Regions from separate parts of the Homo sapiens genome. Here all the other regions are linked to region 3. The links are contacts of gene promoters, found by promoter capture Hi-C in blood cells and fetal thymus (Javierre and others, 2016). All regions are on one chromosome and are shown on one strand. Each heading gives the region's core, a stretch centred on a gene start or on the middle of the fragment in contact. The rest is flanking DNA. Distances are from core to core; before and after follow the strand shown. Region 1 overlaps PRPSAP1 (phosphoribosyl pyrophosphate synthetase associated protein 1). Region 2 overlaps QRICH2 (glutamine rich 2). Region 3 holds the start of FBF1 (Fas binding factor 1). Region 4 holds the start of PRPSAP1 (phosphoribosyl pyrophosphate synthetase associated protein 1). Region 5 overlaps RNF157 (ring finger protein 157).

The links. The method cuts DNA at HindIII sites, captures the fragments that hold promoters and counts their contacts. A CHiCAGO score of 5 or more calls a contact.
Region 1: a contact is called between a fragment that was not itself captured here and the fragment with the promoter of FBF1 in region 3, in 4 of 17 cell types (M2 macrophages, activated CD4 T cells, total CD4 T cells and 1 more). The highest score is 5.8, in M2 macrophages.
Region 2: a fragment that was not itself captured here is called in contact with the fragment with the promoter of FBF1 in region 3 in 7 of 17 cell types (endothelial precursors, M0 macrophages, naive CD8 T cells and 4 more); the score reaches 6.3 in endothelial precursors.
Region 4: a contact is called between a fragment that was not itself captured here and the fragment with the promoter of FBF1 in region 3, in 1 of 17 cell types (M0 macrophages). The highest score is 5.2, in M0 macrophages.
Region 5: a fragment that was not itself captured here is called in contact with the fragment with the promoter of FBF1 in region 3 in 1 of 17 cell types (endothelial precursors); the score reaches 5.9 in endothelial precursors.

What each region holds. Positions count from the first base shown.
Region 1 is chr17:76,330,573-76,333,272 of GRCh38, reverse strand. PRPSAP1 (phosphoribosyl pyrophosphate synthetase associated protein 1) reads left to right here. Exons shown (of 10, transcript NM_002766.3): 4 at 838-1,010; 5 at 2,607-2,700. Among named protein-coding and RNA genes, the nearest start is that of PRPSAP1, 22 kb to the left of the region's middle. The HindIII fragment of the contact is 1,467 bases long and covers 683-2,149 here.
Region 2 is chr17:76,288,233-76,290,932 of GRCh38, reverse strand. QRICH2 (glutamine rich 2) reads left to right here. Exons shown (of 19, transcript NM_001388453.1): 5 at 856-941. Among named protein-coding and RNA genes, the nearest start is that of QRICH2, 19 kb to the left of the region's middle. The HindIII fragment of the contact is 4,189 bases long and covers 1-2,700 here.
Region 3 is chr17:75,939,738-75,942,437 of GRCh38, reverse strand. It overlaps FBF1 (Fas binding factor 1), which reads left to right and starts at 1,396. Exons shown (of 30, transcript NM_001319193.2): 1 at 1,396-1,590. ACOX1 (acyl-CoA oxidase 1) reads left to right here. Exons shown (of 14, transcript NM_004035.7): 14 at 1-931. RefSeq lists an enhancer at 1,178-1,247 and a silencer at 1,358-1,627. The HindIII fragment of the contact is 5,734 bases long and covers 1,160-2,700 here.
Region 4 is chr17:76,351,356-76,354,055 of GRCh38, reverse strand. It overlaps PRPSAP1 (phosphoribosyl pyrophosphate synthetase associated protein 1), which reads left to right and starts at 140. Exons shown (of 10, transcript NM_002766.3): 1 at 140-522. The coding sequence starts at 353. RefSeq lists enhancers at 1-63, 1-174, 1,024-1,083, 2,623-2,700 and a silencer at 344-663. The HindIII fragment of the contact is 1,470 bases long and covers 663-2,132 here.
Region 5 is chr17:76,200,794-76,203,493 of GRCh38, reverse strand. All of the region lies in intron 2 of RNF157 (ring finger protein 157), which reads left to right. It also overlaps the pseudogene ATP5MGP6. Among named protein-coding and RNA genes, the nearest start is that of RNF157, 38 kb to the left of the region's middle. The HindIII fragment of the contact is 1,105 bases long and covers 890-1,994 here.

The DNA of each region.
Region 1 (2,700 bases), core at 167-2,666, 390 kb before region 3:
CACGTGTGGTGGTGCACGCCTATAATCCCAGTTACTCGGGAGGATGAGCCAGGAGAATTGCCTGAACCTGGGAGGCGGAGGTTGCAGTGAACTGAGATCACACCACTGCAGTCCAGCCTGGGCGACAGAGTGAGACTTCATCTCAAAAGGTCAGGAGATGAAGACCATCCTGGCTAACATGGTGAAACCCCGTCTCTACTAAAAATACAAAAAATTAGCCGGGCGAGGTGGCGGGCGCCTGTAGTCCCAGCTACTCGGGAGGCTGAGGCAGGAGAATGGCGTGAACCTCGGGGGGCGGAGCCTGCAGTGAGCTGAGATCGCGCCACTGCACTCCAACCTGGGCGACAGCGAGACTCCGTCTCAAAAAAAAAAAAAAAAAATTATATTCCAAGACCTCCCCACACTCAATGGAAAGAGACCAAATCTTTCTGTTAATGGCAGCTAAATGGAAGGGCAGTTGGGTTTCCCTTGGCATTCAAGCTGGCCTAAGCCCAAATCCCTGGGAGGCTGCCAGCAGGTGTTGGGTAACTCTGGTCACCAGCAGTTGCTTCAGATGTCACTGCAGTAACGGGGTATGACACAGGAGACCCAGGCAAATGTGAGGGTGGGTTAACTGTGCTGTGAATAGGAGTAACCTCAGATGAAAGCTAGGGCTTACTCAGCTACAAAAAGTCAGAAAGCTTCCCCTGCCTTCATGAGGTGCCATTGTAAGCTAGTGTGATGGTAAAATTCCCACAACACCCATCTGGGCAGCCCATGTTAAGTTGATAAAGTCAAGATCTTTTCTAGGGTTGATACATGGAATTAATCCCCAAATACAAACTTTGACTGTTTCAGAGATGTGAATACAGCTGTGATGGAGTTGCTCATCATGGCTTACGCACTGAAGACTGCCTGTGCCAGGAACATTATTGGGGTCATCCCCTACTTCCCCTACAGCAAGCAGAGCAAGATGAGGAAGAGGGGTTCCATTGTGTGCAAGCTGCTAGCATCCATGCTGGCGAAAGCAGGTGAGTGTGCGCGGGGGCCCTGGGGTTCCAGCATGATCCTTTAGGGCTCTTTCCTAGTTGGACTTAGCTCATACCTCAGATATCCAATCTGGGATCTGAGTGTTTGTTTCCTTTTGAACAGTTTTGGCTAAGGATATGTGAGCTCGGTTAGAAATTCTTTTTTTTCCCTTATTCGCTTTGTCCTACTTTAGAATACCATTGCTTTAGTGTCTTCTCTTCTCTGTCATCTGTCACATATTTTCTATTTCATCTTGTCATCGCTAAATTCTTAGCTGGCAGTCTTGGCATTCTTATGTGATCTTTTGATCTTCAGGTCTAGATTTCTATATCTGCTTTGTTAGCTAAATTCCATTTTTGTTCATAGTATTCAAGCTGGATTTTCTTTTACTCCCTCTCCCCCACCCTTGCCTTTCTACATAGTGGCTCATTTTCATTGCTTTATTCTCCTTGTGTGGCGGGGGCACGCTTTCTGGCCTGTAAATCAATGTAATATTTTACAATTGGGTTTCTATTCATCTGATGTCTGTTCTAAAACTTTAACGTATATTTGGGTCCTCGGAAAGAAATGTATGGTCCTCCCTCAATGTCCTTATAGGATTGGTTCCAGGAACCCATCTCCCGCTTCCCCGGCTCCTCAGCAGATACAAAAACCCAAAGATACTCAAGTCTTCCATATAAAATGCCATAGTATTTGCATATAACCAACACAGTCATCTGTAGATTATTTATAAATACCTAATACCATATAAACACTATATAAATTGTTGTTATGCTGTCTTGTTTAGGGAATAATGATGAGAAAAAAGTTTCATACCTGCTCAGTACAGACACAACCATTGTAGGCCTAACTACCTTTTCAGTCTGTGTTTCGTTGAATCCACACGTGGAACCCATAGATCCAGATGGTCAACTGTATGTGAATTTCATCCTCTCCAAAAAACTATAGTGTTTCTGGAAAGAACAAGTAATACTGGTTCTACACCCTGGAAGTTTTGCTGTGACCTTTGACCATTTGCAATGTGTTTATATATATGTACCTTTTCCTCTTCAGTACTCTTGATTATAAGAGTATCTCTTCATTGTTTTTCTATAAGAATACTTGAAACATTCTTTGTTACATACAGAAATTATTCTAAGCTTCAATATCTTTGTGTTATATGAGTTTCTTTTCTTCTAATATGTATATTACTTTGCGTTTGTGTTCTTGCTACTTTTTGCCTTCGCTACAGTTCTTTATCCTTTCTTTTAAGATTCTGTAATCAAGGCCTTACTGTTTTTTCCATCTCTTCGGTATTAATTCCATATTCATATTTTTGCTTCTGCCACATTATTCTTTTCTCAATTTTCTGGACCAAGCCAAAAGTCAATAATTCCCACTTTCTTAGCTTTAGTTCTTTGTCCATGTGGAAGGTTGTAGCCTTCTCTACATTAAGGCTTTATTAAGGTTAACAATCAAGCCTGTGACTGCAGTGCTTAATCACAGTACCCCGTCTTCAGTCTGCTGGTAGGAAGCAGGAGTTGAGCATCTAGTTTAGGTCCACTGTAGCCATTTACCTGTAGGGGTGAACTTTGTAATTTTTTGTTTTAAAATTTCAGGTTTAACTCACATTATCACTATGGATCTTCATCAAAAGGAAATACAAGGCTTTTTCAGCTTTCCTGTGGACAACCTTAGAGCCTCACCTTTCCT
Region 2 (2,700 bases), core at 15-2,514, 350 kb before region 3:
CCTGGCTGCTACACATCTCCCTGAGTCCCTGAAAACAGCATGTCATTCAGAGCATGTCCCACAGCCTTCAGAGTCCAAAAAAATGGGTGGGCAAAGGAGAGAACTAAGCCCCAGGAGAGGAGTGGAGCGGGTTCTTGTGGCTTTGTCAGGCTCTCTGCACAGCAGTGGGGGAAAGTGTCTGGTTATAGAGAGCAGTAGCATTGGGAGGTGGGCGGGAGAGAATGTTGAAGAATTAAACTTAACATTTTGACTGGGAGCAATGGCTCACACCTGTAATCCCAGCACCTTGGGAAGCAGAGCTGGGTGGATAGCTTGAGGCCGAGTTCGAGACCAGCCTAGGCAATGTGGCAAAACTCTATCTCTACCAAAAAAAACAAAAAAAAAATTAGCCAGGCGTGGTGGCACACACCTGTAGTCCCAGCTACTTGGGAAGCTGAGGTGGGAAGATTGTTGGAGCCAGGGAGGCAGAGGTTGCAGTGAGCTGTGATGGATCACTGCACTCCAGCCTGGGTGACAGAGCAAGACCCTGTCTCAAACAAAACAAAACTTAACATTTGCCTGTTCCCAACTCCAAGCCCAGAGAGTAATTAAGATTTTTTGCAGTGGTTGGAATTCGGGAGTCAGTTGTCCCAAAGCCCTTTAGGATGTCAGGCATTAGGTGGATGTTTCATGGGCTAAGGACAGCTCTCTCTCCCTTCTTCCCACCTCCCTTTCCCAGTCACCAGGAGACACAGGATAAAGTAATAGGTCCTGCTGTCCTCTAGGGTAGCTTCAGTGTTACAGGGGCTGGAAATGGAGATTGGGAGCCCACTAGAGATCTAACCCCTCTGATCATAAGGCTTCTGCTTTCCATAGTCAAAAGGACCATACCTCCTGAACTGCAGGAGCAGCTGAAGACCGTAAAGACGCTAGCCAAAGAAGTTTGGCAGGAGAAAGCAAAAGTAAGGAAGAGTCAACCCACTTTGTCTTTTTTTTTTTTTTGAGATGGAGTTTTGCTCTTGTCGCCCTGGCTGGAGTGCAGTGGCACCATCTCAGCTCACTCAACCTCCACCTCCCAGGTTCAAGCGATTCTCATGCCTCAGCCTCCCGAGTAGCTGGGATTACAGGCATGTGCCACCATGCCCGGCTAATTTTGTATTATTATTTGTATTATTATTAGTAGAGATGGGGTTTCTCCATGTTGGTCAGCCTGGTCTTGAACTCCCAACCTCAGATGATCTGCCTACCTTGACCTCCCAAAGTGCTGGGATTACAGGCGTGAGCCACCGTGCCCAGCCCCCACTTTGTCTTTTAATGCTAATAATAGCACTTTCCATTTGTATTTTACGGATTAAATAGCTCTTTCTTTTACATTATTATCTAATTGGATCTTTGCAATCTTATCAGATAGGAACTGCACCTTGGGTATCATCGTGTTCATTTCCTGGATCTAAAACCTGATGCTCAGGCTGGGCACGCTGGCTCATGCCTATAATCCCAGCACTTTGGGAGGCCAAGGCAGGAGGATCACTTGAGCCCGGGAGCTCGAGACCAGCCTGGGCAACATAGCAAGGACTTATCTCTACAAAAAATTTAAAAATTAGCCAGACATGGTGGTGCATGCCTGTAGTCTCAGCTACTTGGGAGGCTGAGGCAGGAGGATCACTTGAGCCTGAGTTTGAGGCTGCAGTAAGCTATGATCACGCCATGGCACTCTAGCCTGAGTGACAGGGCAAGACCCTGTCTCTAAAAAAATTTTTTTTAAAAACTGATGCTCAAAGCTATTATGATTCAGCTGAGCCAAATAATGAGGGCTTTGCTCTTTTCTTTTTTTCTTTTTTTTTTTTTTTGAGACACAGTCTCACTCTGTCGCCAAGGCTGGAGTACAGTGGCGCAATCTCGGCTCACTGCAAGCTCCACCTCCCAGGTTCACGCCATTTTCCTGCCTCAGCCTCCCAAGTAGCTGGGACTACAGGTGCTCGCCACCACGCCCGGCTAATTTTTTGTATTTTTAGTAGAGATGGGGTTTCACCGTGTTAGCCAGGATGGTCTCGATTTCCTGACCTTGTGATCTGCCTGCCTCGGCCTCCCAAAGTGCTGGGATTACAGGCGTGAGCCACCACACCCGGCCTTGCTCTTTTCATTATCTGTGGCAGCCTTGGAGTCCAGTTTGTGGATTTTCTGGGGCCAGAGGTCATTGCAAGGGACGGCCAGATCCCTTCAGACATTCTCCTTTTTTTTTTTAAATTGAGACGGAGTCTCGCTCTGTTGCCCAGGCTAGAGTGCAATGATGCGATCTCGGCTCACTGCAACCTCTGCCCCCTGGGTTCAAGCTATTCTCATGCCTCAGCCTCCCAAGTAGCTGGGATTACAGGCATGCATGTTCATGCCCAGCTAATTTTAGTATTTTTAGTAGAGACAGGGTTTCACCATGTTGGTCAGGCTTGTCTGGAACTCCTGACCTCAGGTGATCCTCCCACCTCAGCCTCCCAAAGTGCTGGGATTACAGGTGTGATCCACCACGCCCGGCCCAGTCATTCCTTTTTTTTTTTTTTTTTTTTTTTTTTTTTAAGACTGATTCTTGCTCTGTTGCCCAGGCTGGAGTGCAGTGGCACAATCTCGCCTCACTGCAACCTCTGCCTCCTAGGTTCAAATGATTCTCGTGTCTCAGCCTCCTGAGTAGCTGGGATTACAGGCGCCAGCCACCACGCCCAGCTGATT
Region 3 (2,700 bases), core at 147-2,646:
TTTTTTTTGAGACGTTGTCTTGCTCTTTCACCCAGGGTAGAGTGCAGTGGCGAAATCTTGGCTCACTGCAACCTCTGCCTCCCGGGTTCAAGCAATTCTCTGCCTCAGCCTCCTGAGAAGCTGGGATTACAGCGCCTGCCACCATGCCTGTCTAGTTTTTTTGTATTTTTAGTAGAGACAGGGGTTTCACCAAGTTGGCCAGGCTGGTCTTGAACTCCTGACCTCGTGATCCACCCACCTCGGCCTCCCAAAGTGCTGGGATTACAGGCGTGAGCCACCGTGCCGGGCCAGTGTTTTTAACTGTCCACACTTACTAAATTTTCCAGTACTTCTTCCTATGGTTCATGATAGTAAACACAGAAACATATAAGGAACATTATTAGAGTTACCAGATGTTAGCTGTTGCATATGTGCACATTCCTAGATTCAAGGGTGTTTTTGCCTTAAATTTAAGTGGGTCATTGGTTGTCTTGGGAAGATCATGGAAAATTCGGGATTTTTTAGAATTCTGAACCAAAATATGTTTTGAGTGTTTCTTAGTAAATGTGTGATCTTCCACCTTCCACATTCAGACTGCGGACTACACTTCATAAATGCCTTTTTATTTCCAGTTATGGATTCAACTAAATGACTGCCTTGGGAGCACATAATTACTTTGCTACCTTTTTCCCCCTTTGCTGTTGTGGCTCGAGTTTGGTTCTCACCTGAGAAGATGCATTGAGCATATGTTGTTACCCAGCCCTGGCTTAATGGTGTCCTGTGGGGTAGGGGTGGGAGGACGAGGGGCACGGGGCCAGAGCATGTGAATGGATCATGGTTGGACAGCTGTGACCTGCCAGCACTGCGGGTAAGCAAAACTACAAACCGTTCTTTCCTCTGTGACATTGAATAAACCTTAATAAAATTCATAATTAGCACATACTAGAAAAAATGTGACTTAATCTTTTTGTGGGGCGACAGTATTGGGTTTCATTCTGGCTATACAGCTTTGATTGGATCATTAAACAGGTCAGTCACTTCCCTCAAGCTTTGGGGTGTGGAATAAACACCGGTGAATTTGTGGATTCACCCGTCAACCTCCCAATATCAACACATTTCTCACGCCTCCGCGTCGGCCACGTGTCAGCCCTCAGAAGTGGGCAGGAGGAACTTTTAAGCTTCCCGGCAGTTCCCAAGAGGGCCTTTGAGCCTGGCGCCCTCTTCCCGGAGAGGCGTTGGGGCAGCTCCTAGCAACGTGCCCGCCGCCGGCAGAAGCCCGGCCCCGCCAACTGCCGCGCGCGGCTCCCTGGGAGCTGTAGTTCTTCATGGCGTCCCCACCTCCTCTGTGAGGGCGGGTGAGTCGACCGCCGACTGCGACTCCCAGGATGCCTCGCGCCCGCCTTTCCGCGGGAGGCCAGACGGCTGAGGGTGCCGGCAGCGGCTGGAAGCGGGAGGCCAGTCCTGGCCGGGCTGGGCGACCCGAATGGAGCCAGGGCCGGCGCTGGTCCCAGCGGCCGCACCTCCGGGGGCACGGCGCGTAACAGGAGGCTTCCGGGGCTGAGAGCGTTACAGGCTGCGCTCCGGGGCCAGATAGGCCGGGCGCTCAGAAGGGTGACGCATTGAGGGGCGCGGAGTCTCGGGACGGAGGGGCGACTCCGGCTAGGGGTCTTGCTTAGGGGTGGTCTCGGGATCTGTAAAACGCCTGGCATGGAGTCGGCTGAATACATGTGGGGACGGGGTTACTCTGTAGCCCTTTGGCCTTGGCAAACCAAGCCTAGAAAATCCCCATAGTCTGAGAAGCCCGTACAGGATCGATAGGAGATGCCAGAAGTTCCTTGATGTGTTATGGGACACATTTGGACTTGTAGGTCGTGAAGTCGCCATTGCAGAGAAAAAGAAACAAGGCCGGGCACGGTGGCTCACGCCTGTAATCCCGACACTTTGGGAGGCCAAGGCGGGAGGATCACTTGAGGCCAGGCGTCTGGGACGACCCTGGGCAACATAGGGAGACCCCCGTCTCTACAAAAAAAATTTTAAAATTTGCCGCACATGGTGGCGTGTGCCTGTGGTCCCAGCTGCTAGGGAGGCTGACATTGGAGGATCGCCTGAGCCCAAGGAGGTCGAGGCTGCAGTAAGCTATGAGAGCTGTGATCGTGCCACTGCACTCCAGCCTGGGCAACAGAGCGAGACCCTGTCTGGAAAAAAAAAAAAGAAAGAAGGCCAGGCGTGGTGGCTCACACCTGTAATCCTAGCACTTTGGGAGGCCGAGACGGGCAGATCACGAGGTCAGGAGTTCGAGACCTCCTGGCCAACAGTGAAACCCCGTCTCTACTAAAAATACAAAAATTAACCGGGCATGGTGGCATGTGCCTGTATTCCCAGCTACTCGGGAGGCTGAGGCAGGAGATTCGCTTGAACCCGGGAGGCTGAGGTTGTGGTGAGCCAAGATCGCACCACTGCACTCCATCCTGGGCAACAGAGCAAGACTCCGTCTAAAAAAAGAAAAAAAAGAAAACACATGTATTCAGGGTGGGCTCTGTAGGTAAGCCCAGATAACCCTTGCATTCCAATAACAGGACAGGCCAATACTTGGGACATAAAGAGGACCCCTCTGACTCCTTTCTTCCAGGACATCCTGTAGGTGGGTTTTGGTAAAGTGGAGGAGGGGGAGGGAGACAGCTAATTCCGAGGAAAATGTTCTCAATGGGTCAGATTTACTGC
Region 4 (2,700 bases), core at 148-2,647, 410 kb before region 3:
GGGCGGGGCGAACCTGTGACATGCCCCTCGGAAGAACAGGCTTTTAGAGAGTCGCCAGGCTCCCTGCCCTCATCCGAGATGGCGGCCTGAGGGCGCTCTAGCCGACGCTCTTCGGATGCCCGGAGGGGGCGGTGGCCTTGCCTCTGGCTCTGAGGCGGCGGCGCCGGGCGCTGCGAAGGCTCGGCCGCTGTAGTCAGTGGTGTGGGGTGCGCAAGGGCACGGACCTCGGAGCTCTCCCCGCTTGCGCCGAGTTTCTCAGCGCCTTCCCCACCCAAACCGGGGTCTCGCAGTCGGAAGCACTCAGAGTGCAGCCCCGCGCGGGGCCGGTCGTAACCGCGCCGCGGGCCGGACGATGCCCAAGAAGCTGCTGCTGTTGCCCCCGCCCTCCGCGTCCTCGGCTTTCCGCGTCCCGCGCGCCCGCCCCGTTCCCCCGCCGGCCATGAACGCCGCTCGCACCGGCTACCGAGTCTTCTCGGCCAACTCCACGGCCGCCTGCACGGAGCTGGCCAAGCGCATCACAGAGTAAGGGGGCGGTGGGAGGGCCGGGCCGGGGGCGGCGGCGCCTAGCTCTCCTTCGCGCCCGGAGGGACCCGCTCCCCTCCACCCGCCCCACCTCCTGCACCTGGGGCGGGAGGCGCGGGCCTTCCCAGCCGGACAAAGCTTGGAGGTGACGGATACCGCCCCCCGCTCCCCGGTTTTGCAGCTGGGAGGCTTGGGGCGGACTCTCGGTGACCTCAGCCCCCCGCCCCGTGACTGGGTCCGCGGCCTGCCTGCCTTTCGTCTCCGCAGTCCCACACCCCGGGGCGGGCCGAGCTTTCTGGAGCCCCGGAGTGCGTGTCTTGGGGAAAGGGGCTCAGGGCTTGGCTTCCTTTCCCACGGCTGGAGTTGACCTGGGAATCTGACCGCCGCCACTCTCAAGTCTCACTGCAGTGAGACCCGCGGGCGTGGTTGTGAGTTGGGGGATCCGACGCGGCAGGTGCGGTCGCAGAGCAAAGGTGTGGGGACTGGCAGTGCGAAGAAGGCAATTCCAGGGAGGCAGATGGGCCGGAGCTGGTGGTAGAAATGACAGGCCTGACCCTGCTTTGTAAATCAGCTTGGGATAAGATCAGTCATTTGTGTCTTTAACCCAACCAAGCCCCTGGTCTTAAGTCGCCTTTGGGGTCTGACAGCTCTGAGATGCCCTCCCAGCCTTGCCACTTACTAGCTCTGTGTCAGTGGGCAAGAGACTTGATTTCCCTGAACCTCATCTGTGAAATGGGCATGGTTGAGAATATTGTATGATCGGGATAATGTAGAAGTAGTATCTGGTTCTAGCAGAGTAGGGGCTCATAGTGGCCCTCTGAATAGTTGTTTACTAAGTGGCCTCTTTTCTTTTTCTTTTTCTTTTCTTTTTTTTTTTTTTTTTTTTTTTGAGACGGAGTCTCGCTCTGTCACCCAGGCTGGAGTGCAGTGGCGAGATCTCGGCTCACTGCAAGCTCCGCCTCCCGGGTTCACGCCATTGTCCTGCCCCAGCCTCCCAAGTAGCTGGGACTACAGGCACCCGCCACCACACCCGGCTCATTTTTTGTATTTTTAGTAGAGACTGGGTTTCACCGTGTTAGCCAGGATGGTTTCGATCTTCTGACCTCGTGATCCGCCCGCCTCGGCCTCCCAAAGTGCTGGGATTACAGGCTTCAGCCACCGCGCCCGGTGAAATGGCCTCTTTTCTAGTTGGCTCTTTTGGAGAATCCCAGAGCTCTGATATAAAGGAGGAGCCTTATATGCCCTTTCTACATACACTTGTTAGAAATCTAAGACATAAAATGAATAGCTCGTCTTTTAATATTTAAAGCCATTTTCACATTTTAAACAGTTTTCATAGAGTTACTTCGTTACTTTTTTAGGGTTGACAAATGATTGCAGGGATATATCTTAAACTTCTGGGGGGAAATGTAGAAGAAAGGGAAAACTTTAGTCATTTTTTTTTCAGCTCTGCTTGTTTTTTTTTTTAATAGTTGGAGTTTTGGAGAGTGGAAGAATGTTAAAAAAACAAATCAATCCTTTTGCAGTCTACTACCTAGTTTCTATTTCTAACCCCTGATTGTTTGTCTTTCTTTCTGAGGCCAACGAAAACACTGACTTTAAACGAAGCTTCTGTGTGTATCTAGTGGTTCAGATTTACCCTACCTGACCTTGAGGGAGAGCAGAGGGGAGCAGGGCACATTTTAAAAGTCAGTGAGGGTTTTTTTTGTTTGTTTGTTTTAGATTCTTTCCTGGCAAATTCCCGAAAGATTTTGAATTACTATAAATGATACATATTCATAAATACTTCCCTTACCTGTTTTACTTGTCGCTCAGTAAGATTTTGTTTTATCTTATCTGTTTTATTTATTTTGAGACAGTCTTGTGTCACCCAGGCTGGAGTGCAGTGGTGCCATCTCGGCTTACTGCAACCTCCACGTCCCAAGTTCAAGCGATTCTCCTGCCTCAGCCTCGAAAGTAGCTGGGATCACAGATGCCCGACACCACACCTGGCTAGTTTTTTGTTTTTTGTTTTTTGTTTTGAGACGGAGTCTCGCTGTCGCCCAGGCTGGAGTGCAGTGGCGCGATCTCGGCTCACTGCAGGCTACGCCCCCAGGGTTCACGCCATTCTCCTGCCTCAGCCTTCCGAGTAGCTGGGACTACAGGCCCCCGCCACCTCGCACAGCTAATTTTTTGTAT
Region 5 (2,700 bases), core at 193-2,692, 260 kb before region 3:
GTGACAAGAGCAAGACTCCATCTCAAAAAAAAAAAAAAAAAGTTTTTACTTTTCCTTCTATGGCAGTAAAGGTCATAGTCATGAATGGCTTTGCCACTGACTGACTTTGTCATGTTGGTTAAGACGATGGCCAATCAGTGAGTCTCAATTTCCCCATCTATAAAATTACCTTGCAGGAATATTTTAAGGACTCAAAAAATGATGGCGGGACCTGATGGCTGACGCCTGTAGTCGCAGCATTTTGGGAGACTGAGGTGGGTGGATTGCTTGAGGCCAGGAGTTTGAGACCAGCCTGGCCAACATGGCGAAACCCTGTCTCTACTAAAAATACAAAAATTAGCCAGGCATGGTGGTGCATGCCTGTAATCCCAGCCGCTTGGGAGGCTGAGGCATAAGAATCGCTTGAACCCAGAAGGCGGAGGTTGCAGCGAGCGGAGATCATGCCACTGCACTCCAGCCTGGGCTGGACGAGACCCTCTCTCAAAAAAAAAGATAACTATTACAATCTAATTTGCATTTTAGAAAATTAATTCTATAAATTAATTCACAGTATAGGTAATGAATCAGAGAGACAGAAAATAAGAAGACCAGTTAGGAAGTAATTTATTTTAAGAAAAAATACATGAAATAACTGAATAGGATTAACAGCATTGCAAATAAACATGGTGCAGACTTTCTACCCTAGAACCATGGACCAATTTATAACCTTGCAGAGAAGGCCCCAGGGCTGATGATCATTGTTGTGACTTGTTTGAAGCCTCGATTGGCCACTTTTTGGTACTATGCCAAGGCTGAGCTGCTTCCTCCAACCCCTGGTGAGATCCCTAGAACTATTCAGAGCCTGAAAAAAAAAATAGTAGCGCTCTAATAGCTCACAGTTAAGGAAGCTTTGCTGAATGATGTGGTCCACACATGAGGTGTGGACGTGATTTTATGTCAGAGAGCTCACAGGCAAGTGTGGCATCATTGCTGTAATCTTTGAAGACCCATCTTTAACATCTGATTACATTTGATTTATGACTTGTGTGTTCTTGGACCATGTGTGATCAGACTAAAATGTGTCTAAAAAACAGAAAATAAAATGAATGCAGTGCAGATTAGAGAATTGCAGCAGTGTGAGTTGAGGCAAAGGACACTCCAAGGAACAGCCTCTGTGAGAGGCCACCACTTACCCCAGATGCTGTGCACGTGTTATGTTTGGAGATTTATTTGTGCCTTGGACTTGGAGTAACTGGCCTAATAGGTCACATCACAAGGACCTGGCACTTAACTGCCCTACAGGCCTAAAGCCCATGGTGGGAACGGGTGTCTTTCTCATGCACGTGTGTGTGTGTGTGTGTGTGTGTGTGTGTGTGTGTGTGTGTGAGAGAGAGAGAGAGAGAAACTGAGATTGGGTTATTTGCCTTTTGCATGCTATCTTCTTTCCTTCTTCCTTCCTTTATAATTTTACTACAATTTTTTTTTGTCCTTTAGCCTGGAAATATTGATTAAATTTTGAGCTGTGCGTACCCTTTGGCCCAACTGTTTCACCTCTCCGAATCTCTCCTACAGAAATATTTTGAAGAGTGTGAAATGATTCCTATTTACAATGTATATTGTAGCATTACTTGTAGTAGTGCAAAATTAGAAAATATCTAATGGCCATTATAGTGGAATGGTTAAATAAATTATAATGTGCCTATGCCATGAACTGTTATTCAGCAAAAATTAGATAGATCTGCGTCCACTGAGATGGCAATATGTCCACAACCACATGACTTACTGAATAAAGCAAGTTGCAGTGTATAATGTAGAGTCTGATTTCATTTCGGATAAAAATAATATATGTATGTGTGTGCATTATGTACATATATTTATAGCTACACAAATATACTATTACAATGCATTTTGAACTGTTAACAATGGTAACTCTTGGGATATATCAAGAAGGGGGGTATTCACTTCTTAATTCATATTTTCTAAAATTTTCTTTATTTTTTTTTTAGAAATAAGCTTGTTCTGTCACCCAAGCTGGAGTGCAGTGGTGCAATCATAGCTCACTGTAACCTGGAACTCCTGGGCTCAAGCAGTCCTCCTGCCTCAGCCTTCCTGGTAGCTGGGACTACAGATACATGACACCATGCACAGCTAATTTAAAATTTTTTCTTTTTCTCTTTTTTTTTTTTTTTTTGTAGAGACTAGGGTCTCACTATGTTGCCAAGGCTGGTCTTGAACTCTTGGGCTCAAACAATCCTCCTGCCTCAGCCTCCCAAAGTGCTGGGATTACAGGTGTGAGCCACTGTGCCCGGCTCTTCATATTCTTCTATGTTGTTTGAATTTTTTCCAGTGAACGTGTTTTCATTTTTAAATGAAAAGTATTTTAATTTTCTTTAAAAATAGAGGTGGAAATACTTCTAAGTAGAGGAAGGAAATAGGTTTAGAAGAATATTTAGAAGTAGGAAAATTAAGGGAGTTCACAAAATAATGGTTTTAATTTTTTAGTGAACTACAGGAAAGGTAGGGTCTGCTCGCTGGGGTTGGGATGTGTGCCAGGAAGTGTCTGGGGGCTTGCGGAGAAAGACAGAAAACCAGAGTAAGCATGGGGAGGAGGAGAGTCAGGGAGCTCGGTCCTCTTGGTGCCAACATGCAGTAATTCACCTTTAGAAACAGTTGATTCGAAATGGTATGAGATTCAGTATGGAAGTGGCCTGCTTTTCAGCA